Linked DNA regions of Homo sapiens: regions 1 and 2 are each linked to region 3. The links are contacts of gene promoters, found by promoter capture Hi-C in human tissues and cell types (Jung and others, 2019). All regions are on one chromosome and are shown on one strand. The core of a region is centred on a gene start or on the middle of the fragment in contact, and the rest is flanking DNA. Distances in the headings are between cores, read along the strand shown. Region 1 overlaps BATF (basic leucine zipper ATF-like transcription factor). Region 2 has its middle 27 kb from the start of BATF. Region 3 holds the start of PGF (placental growth factor).

Region 1 (3,014 bases), core at 177-2,676, 580 kb after region 3:
GACATCCAGGAGTGTGTTCACAAACAAATCCACACATCATACAATTCTGTACATGTAAAGATAATCATTGCTGCATTGTTTCTTATAGGAAAGACTGAACATAAGCTAAAAAAATCCACCAATAAGGGATTCAATAAATTATTGTCCATTCTGTGGAATATTGCAGATATGTTAAAATAATGAGTTACATCTGAATGTGCTAATCTGGAAGGATTATCACTTCTGTACTTTAAGTTAAAAAGGCATAAATATAGTCCATAGTTTGCTACCATTAGTTTTTTAATTTAATGTTTTATTTATTTATTTATTTTTTATTTTTAGAGACAGGGTCTCACTATGTTGCCCAGGCTGGTCTCGAACTCCTGAGCTCAAGTGATCTGCCCTGCCCACCTTGGCCTCCCAAAGTGCTGGGATTACAGGTGTGAGCAACAGCACCCAGCCCCTTCTGTGTTTTTAATAAAAAGAAAAAGTTACATATATGCATAAGTATAAATGCAAACTTTTTCAAATAGATTATAAAAAATTGTTAATGATATTTATTTCTGAAAAGTAGGACTAAAGATCTAAAGCAAGAGGGAGATACTTGGCATTCTTTACCTTTTATACAGTTTGGGATTTTTTATCACATGCTTTTATCTTTATAATATAGATATCAAAATTCTCAGCATTGATCATTACCACACATGCATTAGGAGGATTTCTTTTCTAATTTTGACATCAAACATTGAATAATCTTCCATCACGACATGGAAGAGTATTCAATCTTGACGTTATCTTTTGAACATCATACATAAATATCTCAGCCCTTGGGAGAACCAACTGTAAGTTGGGATTTGAGTGACTCTAAGGTCCACAGTACTATATGATAAAAGATGGCAAATCCGTTTCCTTTGTGTAGCCATCTTGGTTGGTTGGTCATGGCTATCTGGTGCCGTACAGCTGGAAGGATTTCAAGTCAAAGACCAGGATCAGTGGAAAAGAGAGCTGAGGTCAATTAAGAAGCTTTATTCATGAAAAGGCTAAAATCAGTGGAGTTGCCGGGAGCAGTGGCAAATAGCAGTGTTAGCCCTGAGCCGAGCTGTTGACAAGTCATATCTGGCCTGGTGGATGGAGCTGAAAGCAAGTGAGAGTAACAGCCAAGTTTGAAAGCTTGAGATTTAGGTACTGTCTTAGATGGAAGTGGGCCAGGTGCTTGCCTGGGGCTGCCTCCTGAAGGAGTCTCACACCAGTATAAGAAAAAAGAGAGGTTTACAGGCTCCAGGGATGTGCTTTGTCATATATGACAGAAAAGTCATGAGTATAAATTATGCATTAAATGAAGCTTTGAGCTAACACTGTGAGAAATACGGTATTTACAATTGGAGAAAAATTGAGTAATGGAGGAAAAGATGTTTGGGTAGCACTATTGTTCTTGGCCTTCTGAGGAGGCAGAGAAGGATGCTTACGGTCCTATTTCACTCCTGGAATTCTTTTGCTCTCTCTGGGAGACCATGCCATAATGTTTGTTGGCACAGATAAGTCACAGGTCAGGAATGTTCAGGCTAGTTCCACCCTTAAAAAGTTCAATGTAGAATCAGTGAACCATCTATGGAAAGAGATGCGACCCTTCTGTCTCCATTGCTATGAATTTCTTTTAAGAAAAAACCATGTTAATTGAACAAACGACTATGTATTAACCACTGTGCCTCAAGTGCTCTCCCTGCAGCATCTCATTTAATCTGCATAAAAGCTGTATTTTATAATTCCTTGCATTAAGTAACTTGATGGAGATGACACAGCTTGTGACTAGGTCTGTCTGACGTCAGAACCCATTTTCCTAACCATTAAGTTTTACTGCCTCTTTCTTCAAACTCTGATGAAGATGTATTCATCTTCCCTAACCTATATTTTCCTTGAATCTCTACATGAATTAATTTTTTTGTCTTTTAAGCAATATCCTCCAAAATCTACACTGTCCCCCAGCCATCATCAGGCGTGATCAAGAAAGTAAAGACATGTTTACTTTCAATACAGTATATCCATTGTACAATTGATATCATATATGTCATATATATCATGATATCAACATATATAGATAGGTACTATATATAGATAGATACAATTGGTATATCAAATGATACAATATGTCAATTGAAATCTTTTTTGAGAAGTCTGTGTAGCAATAAATGTTAACATCTTTCACAGGAATTACCTTTGACACAACAGAGTTTGAAGAAAAAATAATTTACAAAGATGCTTAGTTCATCATTATCTGTGAATAGTAAATACTTTAACAATGCTATAAAACTTGACAGGGGGCTTACAACAGAAGATGAAGCATATTATGATACATTCATACAATAAAAAAATTTATGCTGGTACTAAAAATGATTATGTAGATCTGTATTTATCAGCATAGAAAGATGTCAGTGATACAGCATTAAGTGAAAAAGGCAAATTACAAAGAGCATGCAGAGTATAACCCTTTCACGTAAAATTTGTGGGTTTTGGGCATGGTCGCATGCATAAAGAGATATCCGGAAGGATATTCTCCAAAATGCTAATAGCAGTTATGAGTGGTTGAGTTTGGGTAGTTCATCTTATTCTTGGTACTTTTCTCTCTTTTTTATTATAATGAATGTGTGCCATTTTAAAAATCAGAATTTTAAAAATTAGGCTATTTTCATTTGGGGAGGGAAAACACATCAAGGAAATCCACCACCCCTAACTGCTTGTCTTACCGATGACGGGTCGGCATGGCTAAGTTTGGGAGGCATATTGGAAATTGGGAGTCCAGCTCCATGCTGGTGTTGATGCTGTAAAGAACGACTGTTTGGGAGGCCAAGGTGGGCAGATCATGAGGTCAGGAGACTGAGACCATCCTGGCCAACACAGTGAAACCCTGTCTCTACTAAAAATGCAAAAAATTAGCCAGGCGTGGTGGCGGGCGCCTGTAGTCCCAGCTACTCGGGAGGATGAGGCAGGAGAACGGCATGAACCTGGGAGGCGGAGCTTGCAGTGAGCTGAGATCACAC
Region 2 (2,770 bases), core at 42-2,541, 540 kb after region 3:
CCAGCCCCTGTCCATGTGGTCATTTTGGGGGTGGGGATGGGGCAAGGTGGTCTCATTATAGCTGAGACCTTTTCTTTTCTTTTCTTTCTTTCTTTTTTTTTTTTTTTTTTTGAGACAAAGTCTCACTCTGTCCCCCAGGCTGGAGTGCAGTAGCGTGATCTCGGCTCACCGCAAGCTCCATCTCCCGGGTTCACGCCATTCTCCTGCTTCAGCCTCCCAAGTAGCTGAGACTACAGGTGCCCGCCACCATGCCTGGCTAATTTTTTGTATTTTTAGTAGAGACGGGGTTTCACCGTGTTAGCCAGGATGGTCAGCTGAGACCTTTTCTGGCCTGAGTGCATGGTAGCAGGCCATGCTGATGTCACCTTTCTTGAAAGATGGGGAGATTCCAACACCCCATCTTCCCATCCCCATGATGCCCAAAGGGTCCCTGGGAATCTCAGCTCAGTTGTCCTCTCATTGTGTGTCATGGGAGAAGCGACCTTTAGATGTTCGCACAGGTGAATCAAAGTGCTGGACCCTTCCTCTACCATGCTGCAGAGAAGGGGTGGTGTTGGGGAATATTAAGTGGTGCATCTCTGCATAGCTAAAAGGCTGAGCTGGAGCATGGGCCACCGGGGCATGTGTGGTTTTGCTGAGCTTCCATTCTCTGGCCAGTGAAATGAAGTCTGTGAACATGGCGGTCATGGAGCTAAGTGATTCTTGGCTTTGGGAAGGAAATTGGCGATGTCACCGGACATTTGCCCCAAAGACTTGTCACATGATGTGAGACCTCTTTGCCTCTGAGTCACATTCTGAATCACAGGATATGGCCATATTAATGATGGCAGAGGCTGCCATTAACCAAGTGCACCCAAGCTGTAAATTCATGGAATCCTCCAAACAGCTCCATGATACATATACTGGTAATATCTTCATTTTTCAGGTGAGAAAATTAAGATGCGGAAAGATTAAATAATTTGCCTAAAGGCACATGGTTTGCAAGGGGTGGAGCTGTGATTCAATTCAGTCGTCTGATTCTAGCTTCCCCCATCCTTTTTGGAGGAGGGAAGTATCATAAAACTGTTGATTTCATTTAACAGAATTTTAAATGAAGTCTCTGCGTAGATGAACATAAGAGATAGCTAAAATCTCAATGTGAAAGGATATCCTTTCATAGAGTTTCTGAGTTTCAAGGTCCTTCCAACTGCTGACATTTGACATTTGACACCTTGAGATTTTGTCTACAGAAAGTAGCAACATCATCCTTATACAAAGACCCAACTGCGTGAGGTTGTAGTTCCGAGAGTTTCAAAATTAGTTTATTTTCTTTGTGTCAAATTTCAGTGCCATTTTCTTCCTCATTACCTCCTCCCCTCACCCTTTTCCCCTTCTCCTTTTTCTTTTTTCCCCTCCCTCTTCCTCCTCTTCCTCTACCTCTTCTTCTTTCTCTTTTCTTCTTCTATAAATTATCAAGCTATTTGAAAACACTTAGGACCTCTGTTCATTTCTCTTCATACATTAAGGTAATAGAAATTGGCCGACTTCCAGTCCCACAACAACCCTAGGGGTCACCTGATATTATTGATGGGAATTTAGCCAACACCATAATTTCAAGTTTGGCAACCATATGGGTAACAGCAAAAGAAGCTGAAAGCTTAAATTTTCCGGAGTGGTAGAATTTGTTCCAGAATGCCGGTCAAGATCCCAAATGTAGGTAGGAAAACATAGATGTCATTTGGGTTGTCCAGAGCTGGCAAGCTTCCAAATGTGCAAAACCACGGGAGGTGGGAGGTCTTCTGCTTTTGCAAAGCTTATAATACCACAGGAAGCAGCCAGACAGTCCACTCTAGAACATTCTGCCAATGAGAAGATACTGCAGAGCATGGATAAGTCACCTTTTGAGAGCCCATGCTCCTAACCAATCTGCCGTGTTGCATTTTCACTTTGAACCACGATAAGACCATTGGAAATTAGGAAAGGAATCATGTTGCCCCGACTTTTCATTCTGAAGAAGTTCTAAGGAGTTGGAGATAACATTTTTCATAGACTCTTAAAGTTTTAAGCCTCCCTAAAGGCTTCCCTAGAGTAGATCAAGCATCCTCAGCCTACAGATGAGGCCACTGAGGCTGGACCAACGGCATCTTCAGGGTCACACAGCTAGTTAGTGGCAAAGCCAGAACCAGGTCCCTAGTGATGGATTCTCAGTCCCTGGTTCTCTCTGCCACACCACATCATGTCCCTCTCAACACCAAAGCTGGAGTGGTGAGAAAAGGCTTCACAGAGGAGGAGGAGGAGGAACGTGATCTAGGCCTTGAGGGATGGGGTGTGGGTGGGCTCGAAGGAGGGGCCAGGCTTTCTAATGCCACTTTAGTTTCCTTTGTGACATTCCCAAGGGATTGTTAGCTCCTTCAAGGTAAGTAGGTCTCCCACCTTCTGCCCTATTGCAGAGTTCCTGGCATGAGGTGGACACAAAACCCTAACCCTCTTCTCCAGGGAGTGAAACTCCTTATTTTTAAGACATTTGCCAAAGCATCGGGCCCTGAATAGAAACTCAGCTTCTATTTTTCTGCTTCCTTCTTTACTTCCTACAGATGACACTTTTGAGAGCGTGCTCTCAACTACAGTCCCCTCAGCCCCTGTCTGTGGGAGCTGTCCAGCGCCCTCTGTAAGAGTGGGCTCTGGCAGCCATGTTTGTAAGACCCCCAATGAGTGACTGAGGGGCCCAGGAGTAGACTCTTGACTCAAAGTAGACTCATGAGAGTCCCTCTCCCAGTTTGGAATTTTGACT
Region 3 (3,197 bases), core at 521-3,020:
TCATGCCACACCTGGGCTTGGGAGAAAGGAAGAGAGGGGCTTGGGGAGCATGCGTACCCCCAGCCTGGCCAGCTTACCTTCCACCTCTGACGAGCCGTTCCCAGCAGACAAGGCCCACTGCTATGGACAGAAAAGTGCAGAGGTGAGCTGGGGGTACCTTGGAGCTCTGCACTCTTGGGCCAAGTGTGATGGCAAGAAGGTAGGGGCCCCTCTGGGTTCCTTCCCACTTGCTGCACATGCTCTGCCCTGTCTCAGAGCAGCCTGAGTACCACTAAAAACTCACTGGACCCTGGGTAGGTTAGGTCCCACCCCTCTCTGGCCTCAGTTTTCCTCATTTGGAAAAGGATGGGAGGCTAGAAGCTTTTGGAGACCCTTGGCCTGCTGCATCCCAAAGATCTTCCAATCCTGCGGGTCTGCCTTCTACCCAGCCCCCAGGCCAACCCTGCTGGGCCCTGCACAGCCCGCCTTGGCTGGGTGCCAGAGCCCAGGGGGAGGTGATCAGCTGGTGGGAGCTGAGGGGCTGGAGCGGGTGGCGCCATGAGCTGGTGCAGCCGGTAACGTTACACCTCTGGCCAGCCCTGCAGCAGGCAGGCGGGTGGCTGGGCTGCTCGGACTCCTCAGGGACTGCCCAGCCCACTCCTACTCTTGGGCTGGGGCTGGGGACTCCCAGGGCAGTGGGACAACGCAGTGGGAAGGCAGTTCATTGGCTTTGTCAGGATTTCACTGCCCAAGCTGGCTCCCAGCCAGACTCACCCGGCTCCTGGGAAAAGGGCCCTGCTCACTTCCCCAGGCCCTGCACTCAGGACCTCCGGCCACCCACCCAGGAGAAAAGGCACAGCGAGACCCCTTGTCTCGTCCCCAGCCCACCCAGGAGCCCACGGCTCAGTCCTGAGCCCTGGTGGGGGCAGGGCCAGCCTCCCCACCAACAGCTTCTTCAGCTGGCTCCTCCGCCACCCCCACCAGGCCAGGTCAGAGGTCCTGGGGACGCCTGGTTGGCCATGGGGCCTCGACCCTGACCACAAGGCCAGGGACCCGCCTGGGATTAGTGGACAGATGCTTTTAGCAAAGCCACCAGGGCTCCAGGGGCCAGACAGGAAACCTCCCTCCCTCCCTCCCTCCCTGTGGCTTCCCTGCCCCCACCAAGACAGCCCCCAGGACCTGGGGGACAGCCAGCCTGAGGTCTCTTCCCAAACGAAAGAAGTCCAGCCTGGCCTTTAGGAAGTGTGTGGACATCCTTGGAGTTGCTGCTCCCTGGAGTGGGTCTGTGATTTCAGAGTCCCATGCTTCCAGTGCTGGGATGGGGAGGTCTGGGGAGCCAGGCTAGGTGGGGGTAGCTCTTACCTGGGGGGGCACAGCAGGCAGCGCCAGCCCGGCCAGGAGCTGCAGGAAGCAAGGGAACAGCCTCATGACCGGCATCTTCTCAGACGTCCCGAGCCAGGGGGCTCCGAGGGAAAACCACCATGCTCATCCCCCGGGGAGCCCCTGGCACAGGAGGAGAAGAGCTGAGTGGGGGGCTGGACGCCTCCCTCACTGCTGCCCCGAGGCCCCGGCCGGTGGTTCGAGCATCTTCTGGAAGCCTTGCGGAGTCAGGAGCCCGTAGGTAAGGCTGTGGCTGGGGAACCCGACGGGGAGCGGCCCGGCGGGGCGGGGCGCCGAGGGGCAGGCGGGTCCCGGGGATGGTCCGTCGGGCGCCCAGTGCCACTCCAGGTCCTCCCGTAGCTGGGCGGCCGTCCGTCGATGCAGTTTCCTCCGCAGACAGCAGCTCCCTTCTGAGACTGCAGCCGGTCCGCGCCTGGGTTTCAGGGACTGAGCCGGGGCGGGGCTCCGGGCCGGCCCCGCCCACCGCAGACGAGGTTCCCGAGCCGAGTTCCCGGAGCGCCCGGTCAGCCCGCAGCGCCCGGCCAGCCCGCAGCGCCGGAGCCCGCAGTGCGTGCGAGGGGCTCTCGGCAGGTCCAGACGCCTCGCCGAGCCCAGCCCGCAGCTCCCCGGGCCGCGCCGCGCCCGCCCACAGGGCCCACAGCCCTGCTTCGGCTCTCAGGGCGGTCACCTGGGATGGGGGCATCCAGGAGTCCAGCGTCAGCCGTCAAGGCTCATGATCTAACCGCCTCTGCAGGAAGGGCCGTCCGGGATGCCTGGGAAGGCAGCCATGCCCACACCCCTAGGGGGCCAAGGGATTCCTAGCCAGGTTATATAGATGAAGAAACCGAGGCTCCGAGAGCACCCCTGCCTGCATATGTCGAATGGACATAGGCATTCTTGGAAAGTGTGTGTGTGTTGTGTGTGTGCGCGCATCTGTGTGTCCGAGGAACTGGCAGAGACAAAACCCAAGCCTACGTGACTCCAGAACTCTAACCCGACCTACCACCCTCCTAGCCAGGCACGGACACAGTGGGCCTCCCACAGGAAACCTCTCAGGGCACCTGGCTGGAGGATCAGGCCTGTTGCCTCCTTGGGAAGCAGTCTTCCCAGGCCCTCCCTGCGGGGCAGCCCCCTGTGGTAGAGAGTGGTCTCACTCAGGCATCTCCTCCTGGTCCCTGGCCGAGGAGGAACTGTACGCTGCGCGGGGGTCTGTGTGCATCTGCGCGTGTGCATGGGCATTTGCGGGTCTGTGAATATCCATGAGCGGTGCATCTGAGCCTCTGTGTGGTCTGAGTACGTGTGACTACTGTACCTCCAAATACGCCTCTGTGTGGGGGTCAGGTCTCTCTGTATCTCTGTATGCTTGTGTGATCTGTTCGTGTCCGCTGTGTATCTGGGTGTGTTTGGAAGTGTCTGAATGTGTATCTTTCGGTGGGACTGTGAGTCTGCACGCCTGCCTGTCTCTGCGTGTGTGTGTCTGTCTCTGTGGGTGAAGACTGTGCCTCTCTCTCTGCGTTTGTGTGTGCCCTCCCTTGGTTCTGGATCTTTCTTTACCACCACTCCTCTCACTGCCTTCTGTGTCCAGCTCCCAGGCTGCAGGAACCTGGCAGGACTGGGAGTCACGAGTTGGCTGGGCCTGGGGCTGGTGGGTGGCTGTGGGGGAGGAGCGAGGCCTGGGAAGTGGCCCCTACAGCTCACATTCCAGCCAAGAGCAGGGAGGCCAGGGCAGCCCCAGCTCTCACCCCAGTGACCTCTGCGTCCACTGCCTGCCTGCCTGCCCACCCACGAGGGGCTGCCAGAGATGCAGCCTGCCTGCCTGGCCGGCCCTAAGCCTGGAG

Evidence for each region. The method cuts DNA at HindIII sites, captures the fragments that hold promoters and counts their contacts. A contact is called where the count stands out against the background at its distance.
Region 1: a contact is called between a fragment that was not itself captured here and the fragment with the promoter of PGF in region 3, in 1 of the 25 tissues and cell types used here (bladder).
Region 2: a fragment that was not itself captured here is called in contact with the fragment with the promoter of PGF in region 3 in 1 of the 25 tissues and cell types used here (IMR-90 fibroblasts).

What each region holds. Positions count from the first base shown.
Region 1 is chr14:75,530,373-75,533,386 of GRCh38, forward strand. The region is part of intron 2 of BATF (basic leucine zipper ATF-like transcription factor); the gene reads left to right. Among named protein-coding and RNA genes, the nearest start is that of BATF, 9.4 kb to the left of the region's middle. The HindIII fragment of the contact is 4,289 bases long and covers 1-3,014 here.
Region 2 is chr14:75,494,316-75,497,085 of GRCh38, forward strand. No RefSeq gene overlaps it. Among named protein-coding and RNA genes, the nearest start is that of BATF, 27 kb to the right of the region's middle. The HindIII fragment of the contact is 3,218 bases long and covers 1-2,770 here.
Region 3 is chr14:74,953,827-74,957,023 of GRCh38, forward strand. PGF (placental growth factor) reads right to left here and starts at 1,771. Exons shown (of 7, transcript NM_002632.6): 1 at 1,342-1,771; 2 at 78-120. The coding sequence starts at 1,416. RefSeq lists silencers at 1,568-1,637, 1,818-1,917. The HindIII fragment of the contact is 10,779 bases long and covers 1-3,197 here.